Linked DNA regions of Homo sapiens: region 1 is linked to region 2. The links are contacts of gene promoters, found by promoter capture Hi-C in human tissues and cell types (Jung and others, 2019). All regions are on one chromosome and are shown on one strand. The core of a region is centred on a gene start or on the middle of the fragment in contact, and the rest is flanking DNA. Distances in the headings are between cores, read along the strand shown.

The links. Contacts are between HindIII fragments. The study calls those that stand out against the background at their distance.
Region 1: a fragment that was not itself captured here is called in contact with the fragment with the promoter of EPN3 in region 2 in 6 of the 25 tissues and cell types used here (aorta, bladder, dorsolateral prefrontal cortex and 3 more).

Annotation. Positions count from the first base shown.
Region 1 is chr17:50,335,539-50,341,095 of GRCh38, forward strand. No RefSeq gene overlaps it. Among named protein-coding and RNA genes, the nearest start is that of XYLT2, 7.8 kb to the right of the region's middle. The HindIII fragment of the contact is 7,744 bases long and covers 1-5,229 here.
Region 2 is chr17:50,529,386-50,534,311 of GRCh38, forward strand. EPN3 (epsin 3) reads left to right here and starts at 3,350. Exons shown (of 10, transcript NM_017957.3): 1 at 3,350-3,600. It overlaps MYCBPAP (MYCBP associated protein), which reads left to right. Exons shown (of 19, transcript NM_032133.6): 19 at 1,942-2,116. The coding sequence ends at 2,043. RefSeq lists enhancers at 4,216-4,892, 4,893-4,926. The HindIII fragment of the contact is 9,890 bases long and covers 1-3,795 here.

The sequences.
Region 1 (5,557 bases), core at 108-2,607, 200 kb before region 2:
CCTCCTGAGTAGCTGGGACTACAGGCATGCACCACCACACCTGGCCAATTTTTTTTTTTTTTTTTTTTTTTTTTAGTAGAGACAACCAGGCTGGTCTCAAAATCCTAAGCTCAAGCAATCCGTCTGCCTTGGCCTCCCAAAGTGCTAGGATTATAGGTGTAAGTCACCATGTCCCACCCCCATTCTATGTTTTTTAAAATGTAGCCATAATCCTTTAAATTGAGTGGGTTGTGACCTGTAGTTTGAACTACACTGATCTAGAAAAACCTAAAGGATAGGCCATGTTGTCATTCATGTATGAAGGCAACAAAAAGACCTCAGGTGTGGAAGTTATTTTTAAAAGAATCCCTCCTGAATACTCTTCTTTAATAAATCACTTGAAGATGTATGCCAGGACAGTAGAGAAAAAATCAGATGTAAATACTCAAGAATGAGAAAAATATCTAGCTTGAAGCACCTGCTTAGAGGTTTAGGGGAAGGAGAGTTTTCATGTCTTCTCAAGACTACAGATTGCTAGCACCTTTTTGCAATGTTCTGGCAATATCTTTTAAAAGAGAAATGTACATACCCATCTCACTCTTGGAAATCTATCATACAAAAATAAAGACACCAGTATATCAGGTGATATGAACTAAGATGCTTCTTGAAGCCATATGTGTAGGGGCAAAATAACTAGCAATGACCTCAATGCCCAATAACAGGTGAATGGCTTAATAAATTATGGTGTATCTATACTAAAGTAATAAACATTATGTAGCTATTATGTATTAACCTGGAGGGGTATCCATGATAAAATGATGATTTATTTAAAAACACAGTGTTGGGTAATTTCTGTATCATCTTACTTCTGTAAAACATGGAGTGGAAACCTACCAAAGGGTTGACATCTGCATATATTTATATGAGCAGAGAGAAGAATGTGGAAGCAACAAAGCAAACGGGCCAGGCTGGTTAATTCTAAGTAGAGAGCAGAGGGGAAAGAAAGGGAGATCATTGGCTGTTCTGAAACAGTTTTTAATTAATTCGTTGCCTTATTTTTGAAATTTTTGAACTATTTCTTTTGAGACAGGGCCTTGCTCTGTCACCCAGGCTGGAGTGCAGTGGTGTGATCATGGTTCACTGCAGCCTCACTCCCCTGAGCTCAAGCAATCCTCCCACCTCAGCCTCCTGAGTAGCTGGGACTACCGACGGTAGTCCCACATCTGGCTAATTTTGGTATTTTTAATACAGATGGGGTTTTGCCATGTTGCTCAGGCTGGTCTCAAACTCCTGGGCTCAAGCTATCTGCCTGCCTCAGGAAGTAATTTTTTAAATTATCTACTTGGCAAAGGGCATTGAACAAGTTAATATATATGCATTACTCTAAATATTTTTAAATAGTCTCAAAACTGAAGATTAAAAAAAAGAGAGATTATTCCCTTAAAAGAAATTAGCTACATTATAAACCAAAATGACAAAGTTCATAACCCCAGATGAACTTTTAACAAGTGAGAATGATCCTTGTTCACATAGTAGAGAGAGAAAAGAAGTGGGGATGAATAGGGAGAAACTAATTTTCTACAATGGGAAATAAAAATTATAGTTCTATGAGGACTGTGATCATTGAATATCTGTGAAGGCTAAAGCAACTCCATATTGGAGGCTAAGCCGCCATGATGACTTCTGATTAGCCCCAATTCTGGGAATTCCTCTAAGCTTTCCAGTCTATCTATTGTTACCTGTGTAAGAACAGGTACTTACCTCCCTTAGGTCAAAACAACTTTGATGTTATCATACTTCAATTGTCCTTCACCTGCCTTCTGGATCACATATACCCCTTCCCTGTGGTAGATAAGCCCTGGGTCTTAGGGGGTAACATCTTGTCTCCCTGCCAGCCACTGCACAAGACACAGACCTGGCTTCTGTTTCTAATTTCCTATTGTTTATTTCTAAGAAACTGAATTTGTCAGCCTTTTTCTTCAGTCTCTCAGTTTCCTTGGACTTTGGCGACAGGTTTGCACAGGCCTACCCACTGAGGAACAATGTCACATTAAAATTATCTGAAAAGTTGTAAGTAAACACAAGTAGAATTTTAAAAAGAATTCTAGAGCTAGCACAGTGGTGCACACCTGTAGTCCCAGCTACTTGGGTGGCTGAAGAGGGAGGATCACCTGAGTCCAGGAATTCAAGGCCAGCCTGGGCAATATAGTAAGATGCTCCTTGTCTAAAAAAAGAAAAAAAAATTTTTTTAAAGAATTCTAATTCTTGCTTTCTAAATTATTAAGGAAGATTATAGCAGACGAACAGTCTATATAGCCCTGAAAGGAAAATTAACAGCAAAATGCGTTTAAGGCCTAAAACTCAGGCGCAGTATTAAATGCTGATACTGACTTTATATGCGGTGAAATTGGGAGGCTTTGACTGGCCTAGCCACAAGTTCACCTCCTCACTCTGCTCCCTTGGATAAGGTCCCCCAGCCAAATAACCCCCCTTATCAAGGGGACCAGGAGCACTTCCTGCTTATTCCTGAGTAGTGGGTTTCAGTTTCCTGCCAGCCTGCAGCCTGCATAATTATCCACATAAGCCAGTCACATCTTCCTGCTGAAACTAGGGGACATCTCATCCTCTTGATACTACAAAGCCTGCCTCCCACAGCCCTTAGTTGCTCACTGTCTCTGAGCGCAACCCCTGTGTGGCCCTGCATGGTGTGTGATATCCTGCCCTGGGCTATGAGTATATGTGACTAATACACTACTGTCAATCTCATCTGCCCAGAATCAAATGTCGTGTGTTTGGCCATCTCTGTAAACCTAGGATGGGAATCCCTCCCTCACCAATGGAGTGAATAGCACAGAAAATATTAAGGAAAGCCATTAAGTAAGTTGATAAAAGCTGTACCAACCCTGGTACTGCTGGAAGAGAAAAAGGAGAATAGAAGATTTTACCAATCCAACAGAATATAGTAAAGGGAAAAAAAGTGGAGAAAGAAGGCAGTGAGCAGAAAATGTGGAATAATCATAATCAAAGAAAATCCAAATAATCCATTAATGGCACTAAATGTAAACTGATTAAAGAAACAGTAAAACTTAGAGTATCAGATTGAGTTTTAAAAATCAAAATCCTCTTGTATGTTACTAATATTTTCCTTGAATTCTGAAATAATCTCAGCTATCATAGCTTCAATATTATTTCCTTGCCATTTTCCTTATTTTCTTACTCTGGAAATCCTGTTATACATAGTTTGAGTCTCTCAATCTATTCTCCTACTCTTCAAACTGTTCTTATTTTTAATCAAAGTACCTCTTTTTGCTGCATTCACTGTCAATTCTTTAGAGCTATCTTCCAATTCACTAATTTTATCTTCAACTATATCCAGTCTAAAGTTCACCCTATCTTTTGAGATATTTTTATTGCTTTTCTACATTTTTATTTCTGAGATGTATAATTATTTATATTTCATATGTATATCTTCATTTCATTTTCATCTACATTTGTTTCATAATTTCTTGTTTGTCAGATGATTTCTTCATTTACTTCTTTGAGCCATCCTTATTTTCAAGTCTTTGTCATATGAGTCCAAGAGATGAATTTCATGTGGAGAAAGTTCATATTCCAGTTGTTGAATTGCTTGGCTATCTTTTTTATCATTCCATTTCTTCATGTCCTTTGGAATTTGGGTTTACAGGCTCATTGTAGCTGAGAATTTTTGTTTTTGCATTGTGCTTTTTACTCTCTCCTTTTTTGTCTGGTGGGTTTAGTTTCGTCATGGCATTCACTGTGCCCTAGTCCAGAAATAGTTTTGTGATAGTGGTTGGGAACTCATGCTCTTCACTGATATTGGGAGATGTGCAGACCCAGAGTTAGAGGATGGCTTGACCTAAGTCTGGGTTGTGAGGCTGTTTTTGTTCTGCAGCCTTCCTAGGTCCACCATTTGGGCCATAGCTCCTGAGATCTGGTCAGCTGCACTTTTTGTTTTCAGTCTCCTTTCACAAGCAGGGTAGCCTCACTCTAGTCTGTGGCTGCTGCCAGAGTCTGGTTCCATCCCCCATTCCCTGTGCAACATTTTAGTTCCCATTACCCCATAGGCCCTTGGCTTTGGTCCTACTCACCACTTTGCTTTCCAGTTTGTTCTCTTTCTTATCCACCTAAATGTTTATCCTGTTTTTAAGCTTGTATATATCTTATCAATGCCTTTAAAAACTTTATCTCTCATTGTTAAGTATTTGGAGAATAGAGAGTGGGTCAAAGTATGAACTTTCCAACCTTCCCCTCATTATTTTATTTATTAATTTATTTCTTTTTTGAGACCGAACCTAGCTCTGTCACCCAGGCTGGAGTGCAGCGGCCTGATCTTGGCTCACTGCAACCTCCACCGCCCGGGTTCAATTCTTCTACCTCAGCCTCCTGAGTAGCTGGGATTACAGGCACGTGCCACCATGCCCAGCTAATTTTTGAATTTTTAGTAGAGACAGGGTTTCACCATGTTGGCCAGGCTGGTCTCAAATTCCTGACCTCAAATGATCCACCCCCACTTGGCCTCCCAAGTGCTGGGATTACAGGTGTGAGCCACCACACCTGGCCTCATTAATGTTTCAGTCACTTGGAATGGAGTGGAGACAGAGTTTCTACTTCTCACAGTGGAAATATACTAGCCAATAGAATCTGGGGGTGAAAGAGCTGAGCACTGAGACTGCAACCCTGGGAGTCCAAGTAATGGGCACTTTGTCTAGGCTTAGTAAGCAGGTCAAGGAAGTGGATCAGAGGAGCAGTGAAAGCCCGTATGGGCAACTTCTAATTATGGACCAGCTTCCTATAGCAACCCCATGTAGAAGTAAGATGATTTGCAGGAGCAGAATATTCCATCACCAGTGCTCTTCAGCTTGGGTGTGGAAGCCCAGTTCATATCCCCGGGTGAATTACACGTGCCCACCCCACAGGCTTTTTAGACAACTAGAGGACCAAAGAGGAAGCGAATATTGCATATGGGCTCTCGGCTGGCTAAATAGAAAAATGAAAGATATGTGGACCTTTCATTTTTGGAACACTTCATACTGTTGACATACAATATAAATAAAATAACTGCAAAAGAAAAATAAGAGAGATGCAGTGGAGTGTTTACATTTTTCTCTAGAATAACATTCATAATGACGATGTTGATTCTGTTAAGTAAGAATTATAGGAGGCCATTGTTTTGTACTGAGCTCCTGCACTAGGCTCCAACAGACCAGACTAAAAATCAAAATGGATTCACTCATGCTGGGGTTTCAAAATTGATATTTTGTCCTTTAATACCTCTATTTTCCCCCTATTGGTTATTTTGTGCTATCAGAATTTTGTGCTATTTTTTGGCAGGAGATGGGAGGATGGTCAAAAGTCAAAATTACAACAAAAATAGTTTAAAGATCTTAATTGGCTTTATTTGTGATTCTAGAATCAGGCAACACTTCACCCATAAAATAGAAAAGTATTCCAGGGAGCCCAGCAGAGGAGGTTGGGCTTACAGACAGAGAAGGGCTGAAAACAGCAGATGCAATGAGCAAAGAGCATCTTCATTAATTTTCAAAGTTACTTTTTTGTG
Region 2 (4,926 bases), core at 2,100-4,599:
GATAGACCAGGCAGGGAATGGAGGCACAGAGGCCTCAGTGAGGAGGTGACAACCCACAAAGATTTGAAGGGAGGGGAAGGGTGGCCAAGTAGACGTCCAGTAAAGAGTGCTCCAGGCATGGGGAGCAACTGCCATAGGAGGGAGGGGCCAGAAGGGAGAGGGCAGTAGTGGGGAGCAGGTCATAGGGGTGGGGGATGGTTTGCAGGCTATTGTGAAGACTTGGGATTTTTCGGAGTGAAATGAGAAGTCACGCAAGGTTTTGAATAGAAACGCAATAGGGTCTGATAGGCTTTAGAAGGTGGCTCTGGCCGCCCTTTGGAGAACAGACTCTAGGGGAACAGAGAGGAAGGAAGCCCTTCTCTTTCTTACTCCCCGTTAGGTGCATCCTGGCAGATGCGTTCCTTGGGAGAACACCATGCAGGGTGCATTCCCATCAACTGTAAGAGTTTGAAGGACTAGAGAGACTTCATCCTAATCCGTTCTTAAGTAGCAGGTCCTTAGAAATTCACCCAGGTTTTCCGTTTTGTTTGTTAGTGTTGTTGTTTGTTTTGGAGGGGAGGTCCACAAAGCCATTTTCAATATGTCAGTATGTCTATTGGCGACGTCTTGCCTTCCTCTAATGTGGATAGCTGGGGAGCTGGGATTACATCATGTATTGTGGTCACACTCTGGATCTCATTTGATCAAAAGTTCCATTTGCCACTGGTGACATCACTAAGATATCAGATGGTTGATGGGGTCTAGAAAGTAATTAAAGGGCTCTGAGGACCCATGGGGGTCAACGTCAACCCTTCCATGGCTCTTTGATATTAAGAATCAACTTGCAGACCAGGTGCGGTGGCTCGTGCCTGTAATCCCAGCACTTTGGGAGGCCAAGGTGGGCAGATTGCCTGAGCTCAGGAGTTCAAGACCAGCCTGGGCAACATGGTAAGATCCCGTTTCTACTAAAAATTCAAAAAATTAGCCAGGCATGGTGACACTCACCTGTAGTCCCAGCTACTTGGGTGGCTGAGGCACAATAATCGCTTGAACCCGGGAAGTGGAGGTTGCAGTGAGCCGAGATCACGCCATTTCACTCCAGCTTGGGTGACAAGAGTGAGACTCTTACCTCCAAAAAAAAAGAATCAACTTGCTGGCCAGTGGCTCACACCTGTAATCCTAGCACGTTGGAAGGCTGAGGCAGGTGGATTGCTTGAGCCCAGGAGTTCGACATCAGCCTAGACAACACAGGGAGACCCCATCTCTGCAGAAAAAAAAAAGAATCAACTTGTCTGGGCTTGTATGATCCAACCCCATTGGAGGGGTCAGTCCCAGAGACCTTTCAGTCTGTGGATACAGGAAGGAAAATTGGCCTCCAGGAGGCCAGAGTAGAACTGGGGCTGAGCCCAGGCCCACCCCAAACGGCTAAATGGGCACCGCTCCATGGGCTCCCTGGAGTTGCCCCTTGAACAACTTAGCTCTAGTATCTCCATATGTCAAAGGTACCAGCGCAGGGCCACCTCCCCAGACTGGTTTGAAAAGTAAAACTGCAAAAGCAGGTGGATTGCTTGAGCCCAGGAGTTCGAGACTAGCCTGGGCAATGTGGTGAAACCCCATCTCTACAAAAAATAGAAAAAAGTAGCCAGGTCTGGTGGTGCACGCCTGTAGTCCCAGCTACTTGGGAGGCTGAGATGGGAGAATCACCTGAGCCAGGGAAGTCAAGGCTGCAGTGAGCCATGATCACACCACTGGACTCCAGCCTGGGTGACAGAGTGAGATCCTGTCAAAAAAAAAAAAAATCTGCAAAACCAAAAATTATTTCACAAGAACTTTGAACTTGTGAAATTCTTTCACAAACAACTGGTTTCTTTCCCCTCTCCAGCTATTCTCTCACAGCATAGTTCATATATAGGTGCTTCCCACAGAGTAAACTCTGCCTGTGATGTTGTCCCGTTCTTCCAGGTCCGTGGGCTGCTGGACACCCTGGTGACTGACCTGATGGTCCTGGCTGATGAGCTCAGCCCCATAAAGAATGTCGAGGAGGCTTTGCGCCTCTGCAGGTGACTCTCGGGCCCAAGCAACCTTCTGGAAAACGGGTTAATAAATAAATCAATAAAGAACCTTCAAGTTTCTACTACTTCCGTGTGCCTCTGTGTCTTGCATGATGGATCTTGGCTAGGTCAGCTCCTGATCCAGGTCCTCCCATGTTCCACCTGCCCTCAGATCCCCTCCTGCCAGCTGCCAGAGCCCTCCTGCAGGAGGACAGACAGACATAGCTGGGGAAGTGATGTGTGGGATGCCAAGCAGAGGAGCAGATTGGTAGCAAGACAAGGAGTCAGGTGACAGGACAGTGTGTCACCTCTGGTAGTCCCTGCCTCTGGCTTCCTTGGCCCACACTTTCAGGGTCGTGCTTCCTGGAGCCAGGTCTTCCCGAAGTGTCATCACCAAGTATGACAAAGTGTGAGATGAGGAGTAGAACTAGACCCATGGGACCTGGCTCCCTGCCATCTCCCCTCTTCAGCTGGGTCCCAGGGCCCCAATTCAGTCCCTGAAGATCATGCTCACCACACCTCTTCAGCTCTAGAGGCCACATCACCTTGTTATTTCGGGGTCTAGTCTGCCTTATCCCCCTCCTCATCTCAAACTATCTGGCCTTGAGCCATCTTTCTGCCTTAAAAACAGCTGCTGATCTTCATGCTACCTCCCTTGCTCAGGGGAACATGAAACAGGCTAGAAATGGCTCTCAGAAAAAAAGGTATTGTCAGCTCAAACTCAGGCCCCTCATTGTCTTCTGTCAGTCATAACCATTTGGGGCTGGGCTCCCTGTGTGAAGAGCACTCCAGGCTCCCAGAGTTTGAAGAACAACTTTGGTTTTTGGGTGGGTGGGCATCCTTAAGTGGGCCTCAGGCATCCTCCAGCTGAGATGCAGGAGGGGGAGGATGGACAGAAGGATCTGACTCCGTGTGGGAAAGGCAGGGAGGGGGCTGTGCTGGAGTCCTGATGCTCTCCTCCCCAAGAAGACGAGAAGACGGGGGCTCCACCAAAGAGCCAGCCCCAGGGAATGTCCCTGCCCTCTCCTTTAATGTCCTCCCGGCCCAGAGGAGGAAGGGGAGGGGTGTGGTGGGGGTGTTGGAGCCCCCCTCCTTTCCTGTTGAAGAGGCAGGGGAAGGGTTAACTCAAAGCAGAGGGGATCAGGTCGCCAGCACTGGCTCCAGATGTGCACTTCCTGGGGGCGGCCAACAGGCAGGCCCCCCACCTCTCAATGCACCACTTGCCTGGCCAGCAGGAAGGGGTTAACCTGCCCTGCACTTCCTCCTGTGTCCTGTTACTGCTGAGGCAGACCTGCCGGGCCAGCTGAGCAACTTTCCTCGGAGTGCTGCCTGGCGCTGGCTAGGAGGCAAACGCACGCGGGAAGAGCTGCTACCCATTCCAGGGACCCTGCCGCTGCCCCTCTGAGGGGTCTGCACCTCCTGGGAGCAGGTGGGTCTCTGGGACGAGGGTCCATGGTGGATGGCTCTGGAGACGCTCCCGAGGCTGTGCCGTCCCGCTGCTGCACAGGTCGGAGGGTCACCGCAGAGGCTACTCGGGCTGGGGCTGGGGCCGAGGGAGCCCGCACTGGAGGTAAGCTTCCTCCCTGGCCCCCTCCCTGGCAGTGGCGGCATGGAAGGCGGGGGTTGGTGGGGAGCAAACAGTGGTTCTGGGGCTTAGTCTCTTTTCCAGGTGCGAGGGAGAAGGCTGAGCTGTAGAGGACCTAAAGGCTTCTTTCCTGCCACCCCTCCCTCCCTGCCGCCCCCAAAAAGGGACTCAGGGCCCCCTCCCCAACCATCCTGGGACTTAGCATCTTTGGTGGCATCTTAGCATCTTTGGTGGCATTCCCCACAGACTCCTTCTGCACATCTCTGCTGTTTCCTCTTCTTCAGCCCCTCATGCACACCTCTAGCCTCAGGGCAGTCCCCCCTCCCCCATCTTCTGTGCTCCCGGGATGCAGCTATTACAGTGGCCAGAAGCTTAGAGTTCAAGCTCACCCCCTGTCCCTTACAGCATCAAGAAGGGCACTGTCATTCCCCACTGCTCAGGCTGGATCTGACTTGGAGGCAGGGGCTGGAGCCCACCTTAGCAGAGGACGGGAAGAGGGTGTGGGCTGGGCTGGTGGGTGCACAGACTTTACGCAAACTCATGCACGTGTGACTGGACAGATCTGGGTTCTCTCCATCTCTCCGAAACCCTTGCTGGGGATGAGCGATCTGCATTTTTCGGTCCTGACTTTTGGGAAACTCTCCAGATCCCCCCATCCTGCAGGCCCTGAGAAGAGCAGCCCCTCCCTACTGCGCAGTTCTCCTTGGGACCCTGTATGCAGGAGAGAGCTGATACTCCGTGCCCCGTGGCCCATCCCACCGCCTGCTGGCCCTGCTCCCATCCCCTCAGCTTCCTCCCTCCTCTGCCCTCTCGTCATCTCTGAATTCTCAGGCCCTGCCCTCTCTGTGCCCTTCCCTCCACCTGACAGGGTCTGGCTCAAGGTCACTGCAGTAATTCCATACCCAGCTGCCCAGGGCTGCTGCTGCTACCGCCACCGCCTTATCGGCCGCTGGGTTTCTGTTACACTCCCTTTTATTTCTGGGCATATCGTGTTCGATAAAACCCTTTGCTTGTAACACTGCTGGCAGCGCTCCCAGCTGCTCCCTCCCGCGTTCCCGCGTTCCTTCCTTTCCTCCTCCCTTCTCTGCGCTTGGGCAGGCTTCTTCCTTTCCTCCTCCCTTCTCTGCGCTTGGGCAGGCTTCTTCCTTTCCTCCTCCCTTCTCTGTGCTTGGGCAGCCTCACCTTGTCCCCTCAAACTCCAGAGAAGGAAAATCAAGGTGCCTCCCCATGTTTCTGGCCCCGCCCTTCCCCCCAGCCCCTGCAGGGGTGTGCAGAGAATGCCCACCTTCTGTGAGAAAGGTCCAGGCAGGG